Regions from separate parts of the Homo sapiens genome. Here regions 1, 2, 3, 4 and 6 are each linked to region 5. The links are contacts of gene promoters, found by promoter capture Hi-C in blood cells and fetal thymus (Javierre and others, 2016). All regions are on one chromosome and are shown on one strand. Each heading gives the region's core, a stretch centred on a gene start or on the middle of the fragment in contact. The rest is flanking DNA. Distances are from core to core; before and after follow the strand shown.

Region 1 (3,855 bases), core at 317-2,816, 160 kb before region 5:
AATGAGTCAGTACCTCATTCTCTTCATTCTTTCATCACTGGTCAGGCCTCACCCTTCCCTCGGCCATCCCCTCCTCTGGGCAACCATCTGGATCATGTGTGGGCAAGGCTGTTCCCATACAGCCAGCTTGGAGGGTCCTCTGTGTGAGACAGGAGTGGGCAGGGCTGACCTCTCAGCTCCTGGGGACTGGAGAGAGAGCTGGGGCCTCCAGGGATGGGCCGCAACTACTGGAGTCTCTCCCAGCCCCTAAAGAAGGGTATTTCCTGGGGCCCTGTCTTCCTCCTCGGGCATCAAGTTTATTTCTGTGTCTGTCCTAGCAAAGAGGAATGAAAACTCCTTTAGGGAGTCCCCGCCATGCCCCAGACCCCACCACGAACTCTGAATTCTCGTGGCAATCCTCTATGTGGCGACCATCAGCCACACTGGAATGGAGGGACAAGGCTGTCGGGAGGAGGCATTTCTCACGCCTGTGCCGTGAACGTGCTACCTCTGCATGCTCAAGCCCATGCTGCGCCACTCACAAGGGGCTGTAGCATTCTGGGCCAGCGCCCTTCTCTCTCTGCCTCCTCGCCTACAGCAAGCTTTCTTCAGGCCTGCGGCTGGTGGGCCCCAAGCCAAGAGTGGATTCTTTCATACTCTCTGGTCTAAATCAAGCTGCATCAGGTGGCACTCCCGGTGACCCTCCTGCCTTATTTGGAAGAAGAGGAGGAAGCCAGATAAGAAACCATCCAGGCACCATGGGCCCTTCTTATGGGTCACCCCACAGATGGCATCATTCTCCAGAGAGTGGGGAATATGAGCTCCGAGAGGCCCTGAGCAAGGTGTCAAAGGAAGAGAATAAAATGAAGGAGCTGCCTTATAGGGCCCTAGAGGAGGACAAATATTTGCAAGTGGTAGTCATTTTCTCCCTGCAATTAAAGGAATTCTCCACTTTAAAGCAAATGAAAATTAAAGGGAATGTGGGAGCCAGAGGGAGCCCCTGGGAATGTTACGGGGGGAGGGTAGTCTGTGAGGAGGGGTCTACTGGGCCTGTTCAGTCAGAGCCCCGTCTGGAGCAAAGGTTGACCTCAGGCTCTGTTCTGGGTCTCCACAGTATTAAATCACCAAAGGGAGAGCTTCAGAAGCCCCAGATAGCCCTGGTGTCTCCAAAGAACTAGAGAAAAGCAGCAGCCTTGGACCTTGGAGAATCTTCCAACATCACTTCCCAGCCCTGGTGTCTCCAAAGAACTAGAGAAAAGCAGCAGCCTTGGACCTTGGAGAATCTTCCAACATCACTTCCCAGCCCTGGCCACACATTAGAATCACCCAAAGAGCTTTTAAAAATATTCACTCCAAGGCCGGATGCGGTGGCTCACACCTGTAATCCCAGCACTTTCGGAGGCCAAGGTGGGAGGATCTCCTGAGGTCAGGAATTCGAGAACAGCCTGGCCAACATGGTGAAACCCTGTCTCTACTGAGCTGAGATCACACCACTGCACTCCAGCCTGGGTGACAGAGTGAGACTCTGTCTCAAAAAAAAATACCCCAGACCAAATGGATCATAATCTCTCTCAGAATGGGGGCTGGGCAGCTATTTTGTTTAATCTATTCACACGATACTACTGAGCTGTACTTCTCAAATTTCCCTTATGAGAAAAATCAGCTGGGGGGCACGTTTAAAAACGAAAAAGAAGGCCGGGTGCAGTGGCTCAAGCCTGTAATCCCAGCACTTTAGGAGGCCGAGGCAGGCGGATCACAAGGTCAGGAGTTGGAGACCAGCCAGCCTGGCCAACATGGTGAAACCTTGTCTCTACCAAAAATACAAAAATTAGCCGGGTGTGGTGGCACATGCCTGTAATATCCTAGCTACTGGGGAGGCTGAGGCAGGAGAATCGCTTGAACCCGGGAGGCAGAAGTTGCAGTGAGCCGAGATTGCACAACTACACTCCAGCCTAGGTGACTGAGCAAGACTCCATCTCAAAAAGAAAGAAAGAAAGAGTGAGAGAGAGAGAAAGAGAGAGAGAAAGAAAGAAAGAAAGAGAGAGAGAGAGAGAGAGAGAGAGAGAAAGAAAGAAAGAAAGAAAGAAAGAAAGAAAGAAAGAAAGAAAGAAAGAAGGAAGGAAAGAAAAGAAAGAAAGAAAGAAAAACAAAAACAAAAAGAATTATCAGGCTCCCAATCAAGCAAAGCCAGCAAATCAGAATATCTGGAGGTGACTGGTGAAAATCAGAACCTCTGGGGAATTAGGCCCAGGTCTTTTTTGCATTTCTACCAGGCTTCCCAGGGGACATCTATGCTGACAGAAATTGCAAAATCACATTCTAATCCTCTGGTCTTTGCCCCAGCTCGCTCAGCTGGTTGCCCCTTTGACCCTCGGGCCTCCCTAGAGGCCTTCTCTGTGAACACACCGTAGCATCTGTCTTCTTCCTAGCACTCATCAATATTTGTGATTGTATATTTATTTCTGTGTTTCTTTAATGCCAGTCTCCCACCTAGATGATAAACTCTGTAAGGGCAAGAACCAGGTCTGTTTGGTTCTGTGTAAGGTGGTGGTGAATTACCAGTGTAGGCTCTGAAGCTTGGACTGCCTGGCCTCATATCCCAGCTCCCCTACCCAGCTGTTCTTTGATCTTCAGCAAGTTGCTTCTCCTTCCTGTGCCTCAGTGTTCTCATCTGTAAAATGGATATTTGAATAGTAGTACCTGCCTCACATGGTTGATGGGAGGAATAAATGAAATTATATATGTAAAACATTTAGCATTGTCAATGGCACATTGGAAATTGTCAATAAACATTAATTATATCAATAACAAGCCACCACCACAACTTAATAGCTGAAAACTGCAACCATGTAATTGCTCACAATTCTGTGGGTTGACAGTTTGGTCAAGGCTCAGCAGGGTGGCTTGTTTCTGCTCCAGATGGTTTTGGCTGGGCTCACTCTTACATTTTTGGTCAAGTGGCTTGTTGACTGGGACTGCATAGTCTAACTTGATGGGCTGTTGGTGGAGGCTGTCAGTGAGGGAGGCTCAGTTCTCCTCCATGTGGCCTCTCCAGCAGACTAGCTGGGGCTTCCTCATGTGGTAGCTGGGTTCCAAGAGGGCGAGAGCAAAAGTCAAGAGTCACTTTCGCAGCATTAGTCAAAGCAAGTTACAAGGTCATCCTAGAGTCAAAGGACAGAGAAGTAGTGCTAGTTTTTGTTAGGAGGAGGTGCAAAGACTTCCTGGACATTTTTCATCCTCCATAGTTGCTTGTTCCTGAATCTAGCATGGTATACTCAGGTGCATGGCCCAGTATGCATTTAATAGGTATTTGTTGAAGAAATAACAAATGGATGTGCAGAGGAGAAAGAAACTAGAGGCTCGAGAGGAAAACTGATTTGCTCAAGGTCACAAAGCAAATGAGCGGCAGCACCAGGACGAGAAACTAGGTCCTGGCGCTCAGTCTTGCCTCTTCCCGTTGCATCAATCTGCTCAGACAGCTGCCTGAAGTGGGGTTGAATTCTTCAAATAATTGCCTCACTCCTCAGCTTCTGTTGAGCCTCTGGAGATATATCTAGAAGGTCAGGACTGTGCTTGCTTCCTGAAAAGTCTGGGGATGGAAAGAAGGGAGCACTTTTCATTTCCCAGGGCATAACGCATTGCAGAAAATGATCAGAGAGCATCAGCAGTCCTCCTTGGGTTCCACTGTATGTGGCCAGCGGCCAGGTTGGGAGGTCAGAGACAAAGGCAGACTCCAGTATAGACGCTCTGTGGCCTGCTTCTCATGTACCTGCTCTCACACACGTGTGCACACACACATACATGCATGCACCTTCTCTCGCCTCTCTCTTTAAGGTCTGGAAGAAAGCTACCATAAGTTTGAGCAGTTGGCCACAT
Region 2 (4,028 bases), core at 1,186-3,685, 190 kb before region 5:
AGTACTGGGATTACAGGTGTGAACCACCGTACCTGGCCCATTTTACACTTTTAAATCCTTTTCTACTAAGGTGATCATTCAATCAGTTTCCATATAGTTTTTCCTCTGTACATAAAGATTGGTAACATTGTAAATAAGTATTACAATCCGAATTCACAGAAAATATTTATAATCTCAAGAGAACAGAATCTATTTTGAACAGAGCTCTTGTTTTTGTAATTAGTTCACCACCACATTTTTCCATATGTTTCTGTATCCACCTTTTCTTGGAACTTATGGGCAGGAAATGACAGAAGAAGGCAGGAAAAGGAAACGTCAAAGTTTTTTTGGAGGGACTGCATTTTCTGGGACTGATAAGATGGATGACTTCCACTGTAACTCTGGTTATCAAAGGAATAGGAGAAATAACAAATTCTCAGTATAGTTGTCAATCTCACTTAATACCATCAGAATGAAGGATTTAAATGAAAAGTTCAAGTTAAAAGGCATCTTTATACATAATCCTCTGATATTCCTAGTGCTCTCACTTATTTACCTGTGTGGGTGTTTTTAAAAAACTGGAAGTATAATAAAAAGAATCCAGAATCCATATGAAAAGTAGATATGTGTGTTAACATAGAAATTGAATAAATTGGTATTTCAAATATCAATCCCTGTATTTTTTCCATCATGAAAATGAAATACATTTTTAATGTAAAGTTTTGGGTTTTGTTTCTTTTTAGAACTTTCACTTATTTGTAACTTTCATTTCTTATTTTTTGTAACTTTCATTTTTAAAAAATTAACTGCTTTGCATTTCCCCTTGTGGAAAAAAAGAAAAACTACTCAAAATAGCTTTCCCTTTATGAAGTGAATGTACTCCATTTATTTTTATGGCTGAAAAATATTCTATTGCATGAATATACTATGTTTTATTATTCCATTTGTCAATTAATGGACATTTGATTGTTTCCATTTTGGGGCTATTCTGAATACTGCTGCTACGAACATTTGTGTACAGATTTTTGTGTGGACACATGCTTTAATGCTTTTGGGCCTATATGTAGGAGTGGTATTGCTGGGTTACATGAAAACTCTGTGTTTAACCTTTTGAGGAACTGTTGAAAGTGGCTGTACCACTCTACATGCCCCCCCAGCAGTGTATGAAGATTCCAATTTCCCTACACCCTTTCCGTCACTTGTTATTATCTGTCTTTTTGATTAGAGTCATCTTAGTGGTTTGAAGCAATATCTCATTGTGGCTGGATTTGCATTTCTGTAATGACAAATAATGTTGATCATTTTTTAATGTGCTTATTGGCCACTTGTGTGTCTTCTTTGGAGGAATTTCTATTCAAATCCTTTGTCCATTTTTAATTTTTTTAATTGTTGACTTGCGTGTGTACATATTTCCACTAGTGCATTTCCCACACTGTTCTGTCGCCTATGCTTTATGTGTCTGAGTTTCCTATTAGACTGTGGCCAGATGTGGGCAGGGTCTGGGTCAGACTTGAACCCAGGCCCTTCTCATGGGCACAGTGCAGAGCATGCAGTAGGCACCTGGTAAATGCATCAAGACTGGAGACCCAAACTCTCTGGGGAGCCCTTGTGCTCTCCTCCAAGCTTCTTTCTTCTCAAAGTCCCTGCATTTCTAGATTCCTTATATATGGAAGCCCGTGGTGGGTCTGGGTCCTCTCTGGGGAAGCAGGGGTTGAGCTGAGAGGTCTCAATTCTGGAACATACTGCCTCACTGCCTAGGTAAGGGCCCCGCTCCACACTCAGCCTTGCCTCTGTGCCTATTCTCTTTTCTTGTTTCTCTTTTTGTGTTGGTGGAGGTGATGGGGGAGAAGAAATGATTGCTTTTGAGCCAGGGTTGATGCAGCCCTGGTTGAATTTTTAAATAAAAGGAAAATCTCCATCTCTTAGTTTGTGCCACATGAATCCCAAGATGCATTTGTCTTGTAGCCACATTTAGTGAATCTGCTAACTCTACCTTGGCTAGGGTTCTGGAGACCTTCTGTTTGCTGCCACCCACTCCATCCACTCTCTCCCCTCCTCTGTGCCCAGAAGCTGACATTGGTGTGTTATATCAGTGGGTTCCTTTGGGCTCTGGCTTCCAGCTGGATTTGACCAGTGGGACACTGGCTGGAAACTGGACAGACATGGAGGTGAGCAGTTAGAGGTGTTTATTCCCTTCTTGCTGAGCTGTGTCTATGTCTGTCCACTGAAGGCCACAGCTCCTGCTAGGGAGCCTCTCCACATAGCCCCTGTCTCAGGTTCGGGCCCAAGAGTGCTGTCCACACAGCTGGCATGAGCTGAGGGTACACTGCTCTCCACTTGGGCTTGCCCAGACCCTGCTAATACTTCTGTGCAGTGTCCCTTTATTCACTTTCCTGAGAATACCCAGTTTGAGTGTGCTTCATTTCCTACAGGACCCTGGCTGATATAGCTGGGGACTGTCAAATGTGATGGCAGAGAGCCAGGTATTGGTCTCGGACTGCCACACATTAGCTGCATTAACTTGGGCAAGTCATGTAAGCTATCAAGCCTCAACTTTCTCATCTGCAACGTGGACACAATACCAGTTCTTCCTTCACAGAGCTGACGTGAGAAGGAAGTGAGGCTGTGACTGTCAGCGCAGCAACTGGCACATACTAAGGCCCCCTTCAATAGTGGATGCTATCGTTAGAAGGACTAGAGCTTTGGCTGTTGGAGGAGAGTGATTTACTCTTTGTCCTTGCCTACTTGCTCCCATTTCACTTGAGATGAACAGCTGAAGAGCACTTGCAGGAACTCAAGGTTGAAACAGGAGTAAAATAGCACCTGATCCACACTGGGAAGATTGTGGAAGGACACAGGAGTCTAAGAGAAGATCTTCTCACCTTTAGGGAATTGGCCACACACTGGAGAAGTCAAGACAGACCCACAGGGGAACTGGGCATGAGAGGGTCTACTGAGCCTGGATAACTAGAGTCGTAGCCACTCAGACACTTGAGCCTCCTGCCGTGTGGCAGGGGTTTGGATGTATTCTCCATAGTTCAGGGGACAGAGGTGGCATCAGGAAATGAATGTTCCTCCCAACTCTAGATCCTGTGAAACTCCCATTTGATAACAAGTGAGCCTCCTTCTGGTTTATCTCGGAGGCTTTCTGGGCTATAACAGGAAGAGTGTCGGCCTTGGGGGCTGCAGAGACCTGAGTGTGACCTTGTGTTGCTCGCTGGCTGGGGACCAGGGCGAGACACATGACCTCTTTGGGCCTCCATGTCCTCATCTGTGTTGAGCACACAGAGAAGCTTTATCAAAGGGGATAGTGGCCATTCAGACTTTTAAAAAGAAAATAAACTAAGTATATAAGGCAAGGAGGAAAAGAGCTCTGGGTGGTCCCATGAGGGATCAGAGCCAGGGAGTTGTGAGCTGGGCTGAGCGTTGAAGGCCAGTGGATCTAATCAAATGTCTGGAGATGGGGAATGTGTCAGGCTAAGGGTCTCAGGGAACCTGGGTGAGAGGCCACCCTCAGTGGGTAGAGTACAGGTCATAGAGAACGACATTAGAGAGACTGGTTGTATCTGACACCCCTCACCCTGGCTTTCCTCCTGGGGCTTAGGGCTGGGGCAAGGGGCAGGCATAGGTGAGCAGACAGGTGGGTAAGTAAATGCTGGGGCCTAATGCCAATAACCGGGGGGAGGGTTCCACACACCCGGGCCTGCCTTCATTTGCTCAACAACATTCAAGGAGCATTTGTTATTGCCCGTGACATTCCAGACCTGTGTCAGATGTGGGGACATGGCAGGAAAGTGATCCAAGTGCTGGTCTCAAGGAGGTCACAGTCTTAGATGCCTTACTTAGTTACGCCAGGTCCATCTGAAGGCCCACAGCTCTCTTATGAGCTCTGTGATCTGGGGCAAATGAGTTGTGTTTTTTGGACATTTCCCTCATCTGAGCGGATAGGGACACCAGTTCCATGCAGGGTTGATTGGAGGAATAACAACATGTGAGATTATGACACAAAAAATTTAGCATTCCCCGGCCGGGCGCTGTGGTTCACGCCT
Region 3 (3,782 bases), core at 58-2,557, 220 kb before region 5:
ATCTTTTAAATGTTTAAGAGAATGTAGACAAGGGAATGGTCTTCTTTGGTGCCTGCTGGGAAATTAGGACTCCTCTGTCTAGTACTGCGTCACCTTGGGAGAGTTGCTTATCACATGGAGGTAAAGTGGGTAAACTCTCCTAAGAGGGGTCTGGATGAAAAGCAATAACACATTGGTTAAAATGCTTTAAGAAGTTGAATGCATTTTACAGATATAATAAGGTATGACTATAGACTAATGGGACAGATTTTACCAGAATCATATACTAGAACCAGCCACGTTGCTTTACATTGGATAGATGATACTCGGAAGACAGTTCAGACTGACTTAGGAAAAAACCGGAAATTTATTCTCTTGTGTAGCATAGAAGCCCATGGAGTAGGGCTGTCTTTAGGTATGGCTGGATTCCAATGCTCAGATGACGTCACTAGGATTCAATTTCTCTGTCTTTGGCTCTGCCTTTACATGTATTGACTCCATTTTCATATGTACCCCCTTGTGTGGAGAGGATGGTCATAGCAGCCCAAGTGTCATGTCCTCCCTGGTGTTACTGGCTGCAGTTGAGTCTCCTCGACTCTTATTGACCAGAATTAGGTCAAGTGGCTGTCCCTCAATCAATCAGAGAATGTGGTCATCTGGTTGTGCCAGCCTCGGCATAATGCCTTTTCTAAGACTCAGCGCAGAGTCAACTCCACTGGAATCCAATGAACTAAGGGGGAAAGAGTGGTATCTGAACAAACACCCAGTGCTCTCGGGCTTTACAGGGATGGACGCTGGGCTCTTTTCTTTATCTGTTTGTGTTGCTATAAAGGAATACCCGAAGCTGGGTAATTTATAAAGAAAAGAGGTTTAATTGGATCATGGTTGTGCAGGCTGCAAGGAGCATGGCATTGATATCTGCTTCTGGTGAGCTTCAGGAAGCTTCCACTCATGGCAGAAGGTGAAAGAGAACAGGCATCACATGGTGAGAGAGAAGGAAAGAGAGAGGAGAGGGGTGCCAGCTCTTGAGTGAACTAACAGAATGAGAACCCAATTACCACAGGGAAGGCATCAAGCCTTTCATGAGAGATCCTCCCCCATGACCCAAACACCTGCCACCAGCCCTACTGCCAACTTCGAGGATCAAATTTCAACATGAGATTTGAGGGGAGAGATATTCAAACTATATCGGCCATCAGGAAGCCACAAATATTCACTACCTTTTGGGGATTTGCTGTTCACAAGCCTGTCATTTCAAAATTCTGGCTCAGACAGCTGAATTCCTTTCAAGGAATAGCTCTGCATTAGGTTTTAGGAGGTAGTGGAAATAAGCAATTAAAGGCATGCATGTGGCAAAAGAAGTGTTTACATGTTGAAATAGCCTTTAAAAATATTTCTTCCTTTATAAGATAGAAGAAGACTTCCTCCTGTCAAGTAAAGACGTTTGCCCTACAAAGGTCTGGCAAAACAAATTTAGTTCTTCATCTGCATTGCAGGAAAAACAAAACCACGAAGGCTGGCATGTTCCTTCTGCACAACTGGGAAGACATTAGGTGCTGGAAACCCCCAACACATTTAAGGACATTTAAATCTACAAAGAGGGAAGAAAATAATTGTTTTGGCCAAATACATGATGGTTATTAAGATAAGCTCAGCCATGTTTTTTTCAGTTACACAGGGAAGGTGGAGGAGGTCCCTAAAAATCTCCCTACCTCAAGCTTTGAAAGAGACAACAATGGAATGCAAATGACCCAAAATTACGCTAGGAAATTCATGTTGAAATAACCTATGAGGGTGTCAGCCCTCTAATCTTATTTTCTTGGTTTCGGTATCTGCTTCCATTCCTTTCTGCATCTTCCTTCTGTTTATTTCCCCAACTCCATCCTACCCTCAAGTCTCACGTCATGGGAGCTTGCCAGTCTCACTGAGCACAGGGAACCAGCAGTGCTTGTAGCCGGCAGACAGGCCTTCCTGAGTGGGGAATGGCTGTGGGGGGCCCTGTTTCCATTTCACCATTCATGTTAATCAGCAGTTACTATCTTGTCCTCAACTCTGCTTTTGGGGAGAGTGGAGTGACTCCTGGGGACAGGTGAGTTACAGGAGGCAAGCTGGAGGAACCACAAGGAACATGGGTAGAGAGCTGTCCATCTGACAGCCAAAGGGGCCTGCTCTCTCTCGCATTCTCTCTCTTTCACTCTCTCACTCTCTCTATTGCAGGAGGGGAAAGGGAGAGCTTTATTCTCTATGAAGAACAGTCTGCAGACTGGGGAGACAAAGCCTTTAGTATAAGTGAAAGTGTGCTCTCCACAGAGGGGCTCTTTTGACTCTTTTTCTGGCTCTGTGGCCAAGGAGCTCCCAGCTCTCCCCGTTCCCCCAAAACTCTTTGTTTCCAGGCAACTTGTTCCCCTGCAGTCAGGGACCCAAAACTGTTGGCTGGCAGACTTTGCTTTATTTGGCCAGCAACAGGTTTGAACATATTTTAAATTTAAATGCCTTTGGGCATAGTGTGTGTGTGTGTGTGTGTGTGTGTGTGTGTGTGTGTGTGTGTGTGTATGTATGTGTATCCTTCAGTTTTCCACAGTCTCCACCACTCCCTATTGCCTTTTACAGGCCTGCTCCACTCTGTCTTATCTGCCTAGCCCATGAGTTTGTGACTCTGACCTGCAGCTGATAGATGACATATTCATTCTTTCATTTTCATAATTTTAATTCTCTCCCCTCCATTCTTTCTGAAGCAAACAACCTCAAATGATGACTCCCAAACTTGACTGTATGCCCTCTTCCATGCCTCCACCACCTCACTGGGCCACACTCTTCATGTCTGCTTTTCCTGTCCTCAAACAGCCCTCCTGCTCAGGGTCCAGACACATTCTGGCCCCCTTTTCTGCTGTGCCTTTCAACCTCCCATTAATTAATTTAGACTCAGCCTCCAGAGCCCCTCCCAAATGTTACTTTCACAAGGAATCCCTTCCCTGACTGCTCTAGACAAGGGTAGATCCCGTCAAATGCTCAGAACACCTGCGCTTTTCCTTCACAGCCTTACCTAGATTGTCTTGTAATAATTAGTTATGAAATTAACTATTAACTGTTTGATATCTGCCTTCCCTCTTCCTCTGCTCCCCACCTCCATCACCTCCCAAACATGAGCTTGAAGAGGATAGTTACCCTGATCACCTTATTCAGCTGCGTCTCCAGCTTCTGGTACAATTTGAGCACTCATTACATTTTGATGAATAAGGGAATGAATGAAGGAGTAAATGAAAGGATGGGTAGGCCAGGCATGATGGCGGAAGCTTGTAATCCCAGCACTTTAGGAGGCTGAGGTGGGAGGATCACTTGAACCCAGGAGTTCGAGACCAGCCTGGGTAACATGGTGAGACCCCATCTCTAATTAAAAAAAAAGAAGAAGAAAGCATGGGTATGATGTCATCAGACTGAGATGGCAGGGAGGAGCGTTTCAGGAGAAAGACCGAGAACAAAGTCTCTGTTCAATTAAGTTTAGCCTAAAGCTGCCTCTTTACATATATTAAGTTAGGCCTAAAGGTTTCTCTGTACATAGTGAACTGTAACCTAACTGGATGTGTAAATGCACTGTAACCTACTCTTGTACCAATCACCAAGTTTCAGCTTATCAAAGGTGGCCAGCTGTCCAAACCATCTTCAAATTAGGCAGGTGCCAAACTGTAACCAATCCAGCTATTTCTATACCTCACTTCTAGTTTCTGTATGTCAGTTTCCTTTTTCTATCCATAAATCTTCTACAACCATGAGGCAGTGCCAATTCCTCCCAAACCTACTCTGGT
Region 4 (3,973 bases), core at 447-2,946, 210 kb before region 5:
TTCTAACCACTGGGTTCCACTGCCTCATGGAAATGGAGTGAAGCTGATCCTAAGCCCACACAGTGATTTAGAGCAGCAGGTTTAATCTGTACAAATGACTGATTGTATTTGAGTGTGGTTGCCAGTAACCAGCAGAAGGATTCTCCTCCACCCGGGTTCCAGGTAGAAAACCAAATGGGGGCCGGGCGCGGTGGTTCACGCCTGTAATCCCAGCACTTTGGGAGGCCAAGGCGGGCGGATCACGAGGTCAGGAGATCGAGACCGTCCTCGCTAACACGGTGAAACCCCGTCTCTACTAAAAATACAAAAAATTAGCCGGGCGTGGTGGCAGGCTCCTGCAGTCCCAGCTACTCGGGAGGCTGAGGCAGGAGAATGGAGGGAACACGGGAAGCAGAGCTTGCAGTGAGCCAAGCCACTGCACTCCAGCCTGGGCGACAAAGTGAGACTCCATCTCAAAAAAGAAAAGAAAAGAAAAGAAAAGAAAAGAAAACCTTATGGGAAGGAATGGGCCACTCCTTGCCTGCCCCTCCCAGCCTCTCCATTCCAACCCACTTTCCTCTCCCACATTTTCTTTCTTTCTTTCTTTCTTTCTTTCTTTCTTTCTTTCTTTCTTTCTTTCTTTCTTTCTTTTCTTTTCTTTTCTTTTCTTTTCTTTTCTTTTTTTGGAGACAGTCTCGCTTTGCTGCCCAGGCTGGAGTTGAGTGGTGCGAACTTGACTCGTTGTAACCTCCACCTCCCAGGTTCAAGCTATTCTCCTGCCTCAGCCTCCCAAGTAGCTGGGACTACAGGTGTGCACCACAATGCCTGGCTAATTTTGTATTTTTAGTGGAGATGGAGTTTCACCATGTTGGCCAGGCTGTTCTCCAACTCCTGACCTCAGGTGATCTGCCCACCTCGGCCTCCCAAAGTGTTGGCATCACAGGCATGAGCAACCTCGCCCAGCCCCCTCTCCCACATTTTCAAACCACCCTCCCACCATCCTCTGATGTCTACAAGAAAAAAGGAGAGAGATTTTTTAGCATGATATCAGTTTCTATCCATCATTCACTGAATTCTCATTCCAGCCCTTGGAGGTTGGGTGTCATTTTTACCATTTTACAGATGGAGAAGCTGAGGCTCTGAGAAGGCAAGCAACTTGTTCAAGATCACCTCATTGGCAGAACTGGGCTTGATACAAAGCTAAACCTGAAGCAGAGCCTGTACTTGGTCTGCCACACTGCAAAAAAATGGGAGAAACCCTCCTCAGTATTGGAAACGACTTCAGAACCTTGGAGAGCAAGGCTGAGCTTGACTGGGAAAGAAGGGATAGTTTGGAAGAAGAGATGTGTCCTCTTCTGTCAGAGCTCAGCCCCAACCTGCCCTGGTAAGGTCATGCCCCTGCCATGGTCAGCCCCCTGCTAAGGAGAAATAGGATGCTGGCCCTCCAGTAGACAAGTGTCTGTGGGGTGAGTCACCCATTATCCCCCTCCCGTGTGACACACTTAGTACAAGGCATTGGGAAGTATCAGACCAAGAGAATAGACTTCAAGATGCCACGTGCCCACAGGCCTGGGAATGCTTGGCTTCCTGTGACCTTGGATTGCACACGCATTCAAGAGGCTCCCAAGAAGCTTACCCAGCCAGAGGTTCCCACGCCAAGGAGTTGGGCTGGACTCTGTGACCTCTCTTTGCCTTGCCTGGGGCCACCCAGATCATTAGACCATAGGCACTAATGCACCTGCCTGCTGCCTCTTACTGTAGAAAAAGAGATGAGTAGAGGCAAGTGGATTCCTTGGCGCTTGGGAAGCTTCAAGGTGGTGCACATAGTCTTGGAGCCAGGTAACCCTGGGTTAAATCCCAGTGCCTCCTCTAATTAGTCAGACAACCCTGCACAAGTTAGGTTACCTTGCTAAGCCTCAGTGTTCACATTTGTAAAAAAAGTGCCAATCATGCTTTTCCACAGTTTGGATTGAATCAGAAAACTTAAATAACCATCTATCCCCAAAACAGCTGACACATAATAAGGGATATTTAAGTTAAAACTTTTCATTTTTATTAAAATATTAAACATCTTCAAAATTCACATAGAAAGAAGAGCACTAGAATAATTGCAAATGATGGAGCAACCAAAGCCACCAATGATTGAAATGTTCTCTGTGACTAAAGGATGGTTATTTATTCTGAAAGTAAGAGTACGATGATATCAGGAGAGGAAAGGGGGTGGAGCTCATCTTAAGTGCTGTGCTTGCACTGTAGTGTGTGTGTGAGAGAGAGAGTGCATGTGTATGTGTGTTTGTGTGTATGTGTATGTGAGTAAGAGACAGAGAGAGAAGGGTGGGGGGACACACTTTCAACAGACTAAAATCTAATCCCTACCCTCAGGAATTTACACATAACTGGAATATTTTTAAAAGTGTCAAAATTGACATCTGTGAGCTACAAAGTGCTACAGGAATATAAAGGCAGGAGAGTTCGCTTCCAGCGCAGCTGGGGTTCTGAGTGGTATGTGACACTTCCTGGAGGAATGCTATTTGAGGTAACTGAAGCGAGGGTGAGATTTCAACAGGTACTAATGGGGATAGGGTGGAAAAGAGAATTGTTGAGAAAAGCCACGAAACAGAGAAAGCAGGGTGTGCCCTGTGAATCTGAGGTAATATGAAAAAAATACCAAATACCAAAATATTCTTACCCTTGGATGGTGGGATGATACCTGATTGATTTTAGTGTGTGTGTCTTTCTGAATTTTCTATTCTTTAAAATGAGTTTGGGCCTGTAATCCCAGCACTTTGGGAGGCCGTGGTGGGCGGATCACGAGGTCAGGAGATTAAGACCATCCTCGCTAACACGGTGAAACCCCGTCCCTATGAAAAACGCAAAAAAATTAGCCAGCCGTGGTGGCGGGCGCCTGTAGTCGCAGCTACTCGGGAGGCTGAGGCAGAAGAATGGCGTGAACCCGGGAGGCAGAGCTTGCAGTGAGCAGATATCGCGCCACTGCACTCCAGCCTGGGCGACAGAGCGAGACTCCATCTCAAAAAAAAAAAAAAATGAGTTGGGTAATTTGTATACTCAAGAAAAAAAATCATATTTTTAAAACCAACATCAGTAACAAAATCAGCAAAAAAAAAAATAGTGCTTTTGTGACTGAAGGTAAGAAAGCAAGAATGTTTAAAATTCTAGAGAATACTGGCAGTAGAGAAGGGGGCTTGTGTCTAACTGGGCTCTCTACCGCAGCACTGTTGAGATTTTGGACTGGATCATTCTCTGTTGTGGGAGCTGCCCTGTGTATTGTAGTATTCTAGTCTCTGCTAGATGCCAGTGGAATTTTTCCCCTTCTCTCCTCGGCCACCCCAACTATGACAACCAAATATGTCCCCTAAGGGATGAAATTGCCCTGGGGTGGATAGAACTACTATTCTAAACCCTGGAATATTTGATGTGAAGGAAAAGTCACCCCTACATACTTCTCTGCATGCACAGAGAGTGTAATCCCGTCACTGTGCCTTGGCTCTCTTAAAAAGTTTCCCTCTTTCATCCAATCCCACCCAAATCCAGGAGGTAGAAGGTCTGAATGCTGGGTCCCAAGTCTTAACACTAGTTAGCTACATGATCTTGGGTTAGTTGAATGGCCACTCTGGGCCTGCTTACTTATCTATAAAAATGACAGGTAGATGAGAAGTGCTCAAAGATTCTGTGAATCCGTGTGTCAATGCCAACCCCTTATTTTGTACAGGAAGAAAATGACATTTGGAAATGTGTAGTTTTGCCCAAGGTTACACACCTCACCAATGGCAGCACCACGACTAAAACCCAGCACCAAGACTAAATGCCATGACTTTTGATTTCTACTTGTGCCCCTCCACCCCACACTCTTTGTCACCTGTCTCCTTAGAAGCATGGCTTCCTTGTGTCAAAAAGGAAGAAAACAAGAGTGACTGGGCCAGGCCACTTACATGCGCTATTTGGTGAGCAAGACAACAGAGAAACCTCCTCTATG
Region 5 (4,138 bases), core at 555-3,054:
AGATAATCCTATCTGCCACGTTGGCCAGACTGTTCTGAAACTCCTGACCTCAAGTGATCCACCCACCTGGGCCTCCCAAAGTGCTGGGATTACAGGCGTGAACCACCATACCTGTCCTAAGCTTTAAATAATACAACTAAAATCTAGAAGTAAAATGTTTAGATTGAGTGCAGTGGCTCATTCCTGTAATCCCAGCATTTAGGGAGGCAGAGGTGGGAGGATCGCTTGAGGCCAGAAGTTAGAGACCAGCCTGGGCAACATAAGGAGACCTGGTCTCTACAAAAACAAAAAAAAGCTGGGCTTGGTGGCCACAGCCTGTAGGCTGAGGTGGGAGGATGGCTTGAACCCAGGAGTTTGAGGCTGCAGTGAACCATGACCGAGCCACTATGCTCCAGCTCCACCCTGGGTGACAGAGCAAGATCCTGTCAAAAAAAAAAAAAAAAGTTAGAAATAAAGAAAAGAAAATGCTTACATATTTATTTAATTTATTTTGAGACAGTCTCGCTCTGTTGCCCAGGCTGGAGTGCAGTGGCGCGATCTTGGCTCACTGCAACCTCTGCCTCCTGGATTCAAGCAATTCTCCTGCCCCAGCCTCCCGACTAACTGGGATTACAGGCACCCGCCACGACGCCCAGCTAATTTTTGTATTTCGAGTAGAGACGGGGGTTTCGCCATGCTGGCCAGGCTGGTCTTGAACTCGTGACCTCAGGTGATCCTCCCCCCTCAGCCTCCCAAAGTGCTGGGATTACACGCTTGAGCCACTCGACCAGGCCTATTTATTTTTTTAAACCAAGGGCTGGATAGGATTTGATCCGGGCTCCAGATAAAGGACTCCTAGGGAGATACCCTGGTTAGCAGAGGCAGTTAGGAGGCTACTAAAAATAGTTCAATCTAGAAATAATTAGGGCCAGAATTGTCTCCAGCAGCGGGCGGGGGTGGGGCTGGGGATGATTTGGGTAGTTATTTTGTTCTCTTCCCAGCAAGTAATTTCAGAGCAGCCCAGAGATTCATTTTCTAAACAAATGATGTTTTTCTCCCAAGACTGACAAGGATCAGACAGACCTAGGGTTGCCACTAGCACCTAGTATCTTTCAGGCTGTTTTCTTTTGTTTTTAAAGTGGATTAAAAGCTTTCAGCCTTACCTAAATCTTTGTTGCAATTGTACAGATCTGCCTAGATTTATAGCAGATGGTAGAACAGAAACAGTTCCCGACGGAATTAATCATCACATTATTAAAACAAATTTTCGAGCATTGACAAATCCCTTCGGGGTTGTCCTCCGAGTGGGCAATTCGTAACCAGCTTGGGGCGTGCTAAGATTGTAAACGTTCCTATGGAGAGCGATAACAAAGGGGCAGCAGTGACTCCGCACACAGAATTCCAAGAATCACCAGCATTCCATGTGTTCCAAGGCTAGCACAGTGCGCGCGAGGTCCGCTTTTTTAAACAGCGCGGAATCACGTGGCCGACAGCCCGCGGCGCTACTGGCCCTCGGAGTCTCCCTCTTGGCTTTGGCGCGGAACCTTTCCCCCTTTGTGGACGCGACCATTGGCCCCGCGCTCGGAGGTGGTACGGACCAACCCTACGGTCATAGATTTTCCGAGTGAAGCTTTTGACTAAGTCTCAGGAAAGCGTTAGCTACAGAATTCTAGATTCAAAAGAAATCCACCAAAAAACGCTGTGGAGGACTGGTTTTGCCTAAAAGAAAGAGCAGACCTGAACTTGACTCCTCCTACGCCCTGTGAAGGCTGCAAGGTGGTTCCGTCCGAGGCGCGGACTCCGCCCCCACGAGCGCCGCCATTTTGTTTGGCTGAGGGGAGCGAGCGGCGCTTTGGGGGAGGGGTCGCGTAGGCGCCTCACCTGACCCTGCGGCCGTGCGGTTGCTGCTCCGGGGCAGGTCTCCTTCCAGGCCAGGGGCCCGGAATCATGTACATAAAGCAGGTAAGGCCTTCGCGTCCCTCCACCCCGTCATGGGCCGGTAAGGGCCGCTCCTTGAGGCGGGAGTGTTGCGGCGCCACCCGCAGCCTCTCCCCTGTCTCCACAGGCTGGACCAGGGCTGGGCGGGGACTGTGGGGGAGGAGGGAGACCCGGGTCCCGCTAGTGCCCCGGCTGCGGGGTCGCGGAGAATTGGGGCACTCCTTTGCAGCCCCGGCCTCCCTGCTGGCGCTTGTCTGGGAGAGGCAGGATCTCCGAGAGGTGTGGAAGGGCCGGCGGGCGGGCCGCTGGGAGGGACTGGGCCTTCCTGGGTGGCCCCAGAGCTGGCGGGGGGCACCCCGCCGGGGCGGCCGCGGGCGGGAAGGGCTGTGTGGTCCTGCAGGGGTGGCCTCACACGGCCCATGTGCCTGGGATGTGTGGAAAGGTGGCTTCCCCGGCCCGGGGGCGGCCCTGGGGGCATTGGCTGGGGTGTCGTCACCTGTCACTGCGGGGAGCCGTTCTTCTCCCCAGTTAACCCGCGAAGTGAGCGGGACCCTCCTGCTTGCAGGATACGGAGCGCCGCCTCCCTCGGTTGTTTACTTCTGTCAAAATGGTCTTCCCGCGCGGGACTCCACCACAAAGATGAGCCCAGGCACACGGCCTTGGAGACGGTTTTCTGTTGGGTCTGTCGGGCTCTGAGCACTCCTTCTTTGGAACGTGGGTTCTTTCAGGCTGGCCGGCGTGAGTGACTGAAAGCAGCACTCGGTGGTCTTGGAGTCAGGAGAGCTGGGGCCCGTCGGCCTGCTTTTATAGACTTGCTATTGTACTGCAGCGTTTAGGGTTCAGTTAAGCTCACACAGTGTTTTTGATTTTGAAAGGTCCTTAACAGGTTGACAGCATAACTCCTAAAAAAAAATAAAACCCAGCAGCATTGCCTTGGCAAAGATTACCGATAAAAGTACCTTTTTTTTTTTTTAGCAGATTTTTAATCACCACTTTCCAAAATGAATTTTTCTTATATGAAATTTCGAGTTTTCTATATTGCATTAAATGAAAAACAAGAAAGAAATGCAAGAGAAAAATGTTAATTTTTTTTGTGGGGTGGGTTCTCAAAAATGTTTTTTATTTACTAGGTGATTATCCAGGGTTTTCGAAGTTACAGAGATCAAACAATTGTAGATCCCTTCAGTTCAAAACATAATGTGATTGGTAAGTGTTCTTGGTTTACTCGGTCATATTTATAGTCTATACAGATAATGTAAATTCTGTCCATTTCTATATTGGCTTAAGGAGACAGGAATTGTCTTTGAATATTAAGTTATATTTTTCTGCGTGAAATAACTTTTCTGTCTTATTGCACTGATGAATTGCTTATTTTTATAAACTTAAAATGTTTGGATAAGACACTCATAAGTTATCCATTTTTTATCTAGGTAGCCTTGTATGTGTGTGTAAGAGTGTTTTAAAGCATTTCCGCTCTTCTGTTCTTGTTATATATCCTAGTGAAAATGCTGACTGTTGCCTTATTTCAGAGACAGACAATTTTTATTCACAAAGTAGATGCCAGGATTCCCCCCCCACCCCGGCAGTCAGTGTCTCTAAGGACAGACCATGTAGCTAGATTGGAAGAGCATAAACTTTGGAGCATAACAGAATGGGGTTCAAATCCCAGTTATAGGGGGGTGGGGGCCTGGGGGAGGGATAGCATTAGGAGAAATACCTAATGTAAATGTCGAGTTGATGGGTGCAGCAAACCAACATGGCACATGTATACCTATGTAACAAACCTGCATGTTGTGCACATGTATCCTAGTATAACAACAACGAAAAAAAAAATCCCAGTTGTGGCACACGTTCTTTTTCACTTTCTGAGAAGCTTCAGTTTTCTCATTTGTAAAGTGGAGATGATACCTGTCTCATAGGGCTGTTGAGAAGATTAAATGAGAAACCTTATGTAAGTGTGAAGATAAAGAGCTAATGGTGATTGCCATTAACAATATGTAGTCATTATAGATTGCTCAGATTGTAGTGTGCATTTTGCTGATACAGCTAACAAAAATGTTTTCTGACACTCTGCTGAGTATTTTACAGGATAGATGAAAGGAGTGCTTCTGGACACCAGAAACACAGACTGCTGTTGACACAGTTTTGCTGTACAGAGTCCAAACTAAGTGGTGTATTAGTTTGCTAAGGCAGCCATAACAAAATACCATAGACTGGTGGC
Region 6 (3,738 bases), core at 924-3,423, 250 kb before region 5:
AGCAACGGTCAGGAAGGCCTCATTGAAAAGTTGACTTTGGGGCTGAGACCTGAAGGGAGTGAGAATTGTGAACCATGTGGATACCTGGTGGAAGATCATTCCATACAGGGGGAACAGCAAGTGGAAAGACCCTGAGGTGGGCATATTCCCGTTTTGAATATGTTGAATTTGAAAGGCCTATTATTTATTCAAGTGGAAATATCAAGGCAGTTGGAAATATATTCAGACTTGGGGAGGAGCAGGTTGGCGGGAGGTAGGAATGAGAGAGAGAACCAGGAGTTTAGTTAATTTGTGCTAGATGAAGCATATGTTGTCTATCAGTGATCAACACATAGCTATAAAGTGGGTACTTGAATCTATTCAATAAGTATTTATTAAACCCCTGGAATTCCATCTCTGTTAATAGCAGGTAGTTCATATTGGATCAGCCCTTCTGCAAATAACAATTATAAACTCTGGAGGAAAAAAATTGACCTAAAGGCATTACAGAGTGACCAAACTAGAAACCAGAGGATAATTTACAATTGGAAGAAGGAAATGGTGCTGGATGAGTTTGCTTTTTTTTTTTTTTTCCCTAATGAATTTTTGCCTGAGGAAAGGCCTCAGTCAGCTCTGTGATGGGATAGTTAGAATTTGGATAGAAATATACAATTTTGAGGAATTGGAAGTCAGACCTTGAGGTTATCACAGCTATTGCAACAACTGGGAAATTGTTGTGGTGGTGGGTATCCTAAAAAGGAGAGAGCCACAGAAGAGAAGCCAAAAATTCTGTGTATAAACTTTCCCCAAATCTCTGACTGTCCTCCAGATTATACACATAAAGGGCAGACCTCAAATAGCCTAGCTAATGACAAAAGAACTGAACGGACATTTTAACTCTTGCACATTATACGAGAGAAAGAGTTTGAAGTTTTAGTGTAGCCAAGTTAACTGTTTTGTAAAACAAAAAATTAAAAGCTTTCCAGAGGAACATAACAGAAACCATGGTCTCTATAATGTATAATTTACCATGTGCAGGTCACAATCCAAAATTACTGGACAATCGAAGAAAACAGAAAAACGTGGCCTATATTCAAAAGAAAAGGCAATCAATAGAGATTGAATCTAAGATGATGTAAAAGTTTGAATGAGGATACAATTATTTTAACTATTGTAAACTATTTTAACTCTGCTCAAGGACATAAACAAATATATGCTCATAATGAATGAACAGAGAGGAAACCTCAGCAGAGGGACAGAAACTACAAAAATGAACTAATAGAAGATTCTAGAAGTAAAAAATAACATCTAAAATTAAAAATTCACTCAATGCACTTGACAGAAGATTAGAAATGGCCGATCAAAATCAGTGAGCTTGAAGATAGACCAACAGACATTATCAGAACAGAAGATAAAAGAGAAAAAAAAGATTGAAGAAAAATTAAGAGCTTCAGTGACCTCTGGGTCAACACAGAAAATTCTAACATAAGCACACTTGTAATCCCTAATGAAGAGAAAATAATACAGAAAATGTATTAGAAAATAGTGGCTGAGATTGGGTGCAGTGGCTCATGCCTGTAATCCCAACACTTTGGGAGGCTAAGGCAGGAGGATTGCTTGAACCCAGGAGTTCAAGACCAGCCTGGTAAACATAGAGAGACCCCATCTCTATTAAATACAAATTTAAAAATTAGCCAAGTGTGGTGGTGCACGCCCGTAGTCTAAGCTACTCAGGAGGCTGAGACAAGAGGATCGCTTGAGCAGGAGGTTGAGGCTACAGTGAGTTATGATCACACCACTGCACTCCAGCCTGGGCAACAGAGTAAGACCCTTTCTCAAAAAACAAACAAACAAGCAAAAAAAGAAATTAGGCCAGGCACAGTGGCTAATGCCTGTAATCCCAGCACTTTGGAAGGCTGAGATGTGTGGATCACTTGGGGCCAGGAGTTTGGGACCAGTCTGGCCAACATGGTGAAACTCCATCTCTATTAAAAACTCAACATTTAGCTGGGTGTGATGGCATGCACCGGTAGTCCCAGCTATTTAGGAGGCTGAGGCAAGAAAGTTGCTTGACCCTGGGAGGCAGAAGTTGCAGTGAGCTGAGATTGCACCATCGCACTCCAGCCTGAATGACAGAGCAAGACTCTGTATCAAAAAAGAAAAAATAAGAAAATAGTGGCTGAAGTTTTTCCAAATTTGGTGAAAGACATAAAGTTACATATCCAAGAATCTTGGTAAACCCCAAGCAGGATAAATACAAAGAAAAGCATACTTTGGAACACTTTACTCAAACTGCTAAAAGTGAAAGAAGCCACAGACATTTTGCACACATGTCCAAAATGGAATTTATCCTCTTCCCTCCGAATTTGCTCCTCTTCTTATATTTACTTTTTCAGGAAATGATGCTACCTGCTGCCTTCTACAAGAGAGAACCCTGGAGTCCCTCTGAACTCATTCTTCTCCTTTCTTTTCTACTTCAGTGGGACACCAACTCCATCTACTATGTCATTACATAGCTCAAGCCTCTTTCCTTTCTCACAGCTGCTGTCTTAGTACAATTCCATATTTATAGCCTGGGAGTCTCCTAAATTGTCATCCTGATCTCTTCTCTTTCTGCTGCCGGAATGGTTATTTTAAGCCCGAATTCTGACCTTGTCACTTTCCAGTTTAAAATCTTCCAGTGATTTTCCATCCCTTTGGAAACAGAATTTCTATACCGTAGCATATTGCTTCAAGATCTGGGTCCTGATGTCATCTCTAGCCTTAGTTATGCCACTTGGAGGTCTCCAAATGAGCCACAGTGTCACACCTCTGTGGTTTGCCAATGTTGATCTTTTTTAGTGGAAGTTTATTCTCTTGTTTCTCAGGCTAATCTGTACTCATCCTTCAATCACCAACTCAAGGGTCATCTTCTCTTGGAAAACGTCCCTGACCCCTTTCCCTAGGTGGAACTGGATGCCCCCTGCTCATCCTGCGTAGTGCTGTGGTATCTGTGCTCCTTTACCTCTATTATATCTGGTGTTCCATTGTACTCTTGCCATTGATTTTCCTTTAGCATCAGGTCTTATTCATCTGTAGATCTCCAGAACATGGCAAATAGCTGGGGCTGAGTGTTTGTTGAATGAGCAAATGGCTGAGTGAAACAAGAGTTTGAATTGATTCCCTATATGGAGCCTATCTGTTTCTCAGGCAGTAAGTTCTTCTTTTGCCATGATAAACCTCCCCAAATAAGATTATCCAGGTGAGAAAACCAGCAAAGAACCTGAGGCAAAGGCCCAAGGAGGGGAACTTTGTACACGTGCTTACATAATGGACAGTGAGGCAACTGAGCTTATTTTTCCACCAAGGAGATGCGTTGGGCTAAGCAATTCATGTGTAACTTTGGTCACTAGCACATGAGTAGACCAACAATAAGCTTAAACTAGGAGAGTGATCTTTTTCAATGAAACCGTTTTGGACTCTTTTCTGCTGTAGGTGAGAGACTACCCTTCTTTGCTTTTTATACCACTTTTTGTGGACTAGTACTCATGTCCATCACTCATATCCCTAGGATTCTTCCTTCTAACTCTTAAGCCACTCATTTGCCAAAACAAAGCCCAAATTTCTCCAAAATATTGTCTTTTGTTTGCAGTCATTTTCAGCTCATCAGCATTATTGATTTTATGTCCACTCTGAAGGGAAGGCCACAGAGTTGACACCCAGGAAAATGATTCTCACTCAACTTACAGACCAGCTTAAACCAGGAAAAATGGGACCTGC

Evidence for each region. Contacts are between HindIII fragments. The CHiCAGO score rates a contact against its expected background, and 5 or more counts as called.
Region 1: a fragment that was not itself captured here is called in contact with the fragment with the promoter of SMC3 in region 5 in 1 of 17 cell types (endothelial precursors); the score reaches 6.0 in endothelial precursors.
Region 2: a fragment that was not itself captured here is called in contact with the fragment with the promoter of SMC3 in region 5 in 1 of 17 cell types (naive B cells); the score reaches 5.2 in naive B cells.
Region 3: a fragment that was not itself captured here is called in contact with the fragment with the promoter of SMC3 in region 5 in 12 of 17 cell types (fetal thymus, megakaryocytes, M0 macrophages and 9 more); the score reaches 10.6 in fetal thymus.
Region 4: a contact is called between a fragment that was not itself captured here and the fragment with the promoter of SMC3 in region 5, in 7 of 17 cell types (total B cells, naive B cells, fetal thymus and 4 more). The highest score is 9.9, in total B cells.
Region 6: a contact is called between a fragment that was not itself captured here and the fragment with the promoter of SMC3 in region 5, in 16 of 17 cell types (total B cells, M2 macrophages, naive B cells and 13 more). The highest score is 16.1, in total B cells.

What each region holds. Positions count from the first base shown.
Region 1 is chr10:110,410,607-110,414,461 of GRCh38, forward strand. No RefSeq gene overlaps it. Among named protein-coding and RNA genes, the nearest start is that of DUSP5-DT, 84 kb to the right of the region's middle. RefSeq lists enhancers at 1-560, 3,638-3,855. The HindIII fragment of the contact is 1,974 bases long and covers 580-2,553 here.
Region 2 is chr10:110,379,722-110,383,749 of GRCh38, forward strand. No RefSeq gene overlaps it. Among named protein-coding and RNA genes, the nearest start is that of SMNDC1, 77 kb to the left of the region's middle. The HindIII fragment of the contact is 1,670 bases long and covers 1,601-3,270 here.
Region 3 is chr10:110,343,717-110,347,498 of GRCh38, forward strand. No RefSeq gene overlaps it. Among named protein-coding and RNA genes, the nearest start is that of SMNDC1, 41 kb to the left of the region's middle. The HindIII fragment of the contact is 776 bases long and covers 920-1,695 here.
Region 4 is chr10:110,359,790-110,363,762 of GRCh38, forward strand. No RefSeq gene overlaps it. Among named protein-coding and RNA genes, the nearest start is that of SMNDC1, 57 kb to the left of the region's middle. The HindIII fragment of the contact is 176 bases long and covers 1,609-1,784 here.
Region 5 is chr10:110,565,891-110,570,028 of GRCh38, forward strand. SMC3 (structural maintenance of chromosomes 3) reads left to right here and starts at 1,805. Exons shown (of 29, transcript NM_005445.4): 1 at 1,805-1,941; 2 at 3,048-3,123. The coding sequence starts at 1,927. LOC105378483 (a long non-coding RNA gene) reads right to left here and starts at 1,418. Exons shown (of 2, transcript XR_946318.2): 1 at 1,143-1,418. RefSeq lists enhancers at 108-810, 1,625-1,674, 1,685-1,784 and a silencer at 2,125-2,414. The HindIII fragment of the contact is 2,181 bases long and covers 1,608-3,788 here.
Region 6 is chr10:110,319,883-110,323,620 of GRCh38, forward strand. No RefSeq gene overlaps it. Among named protein-coding and RNA genes, the nearest start is that of SMNDC1, 17 kb to the left of the region's middle. The HindIII fragment of the contact is 2,437 bases long and covers 956-3,392 here.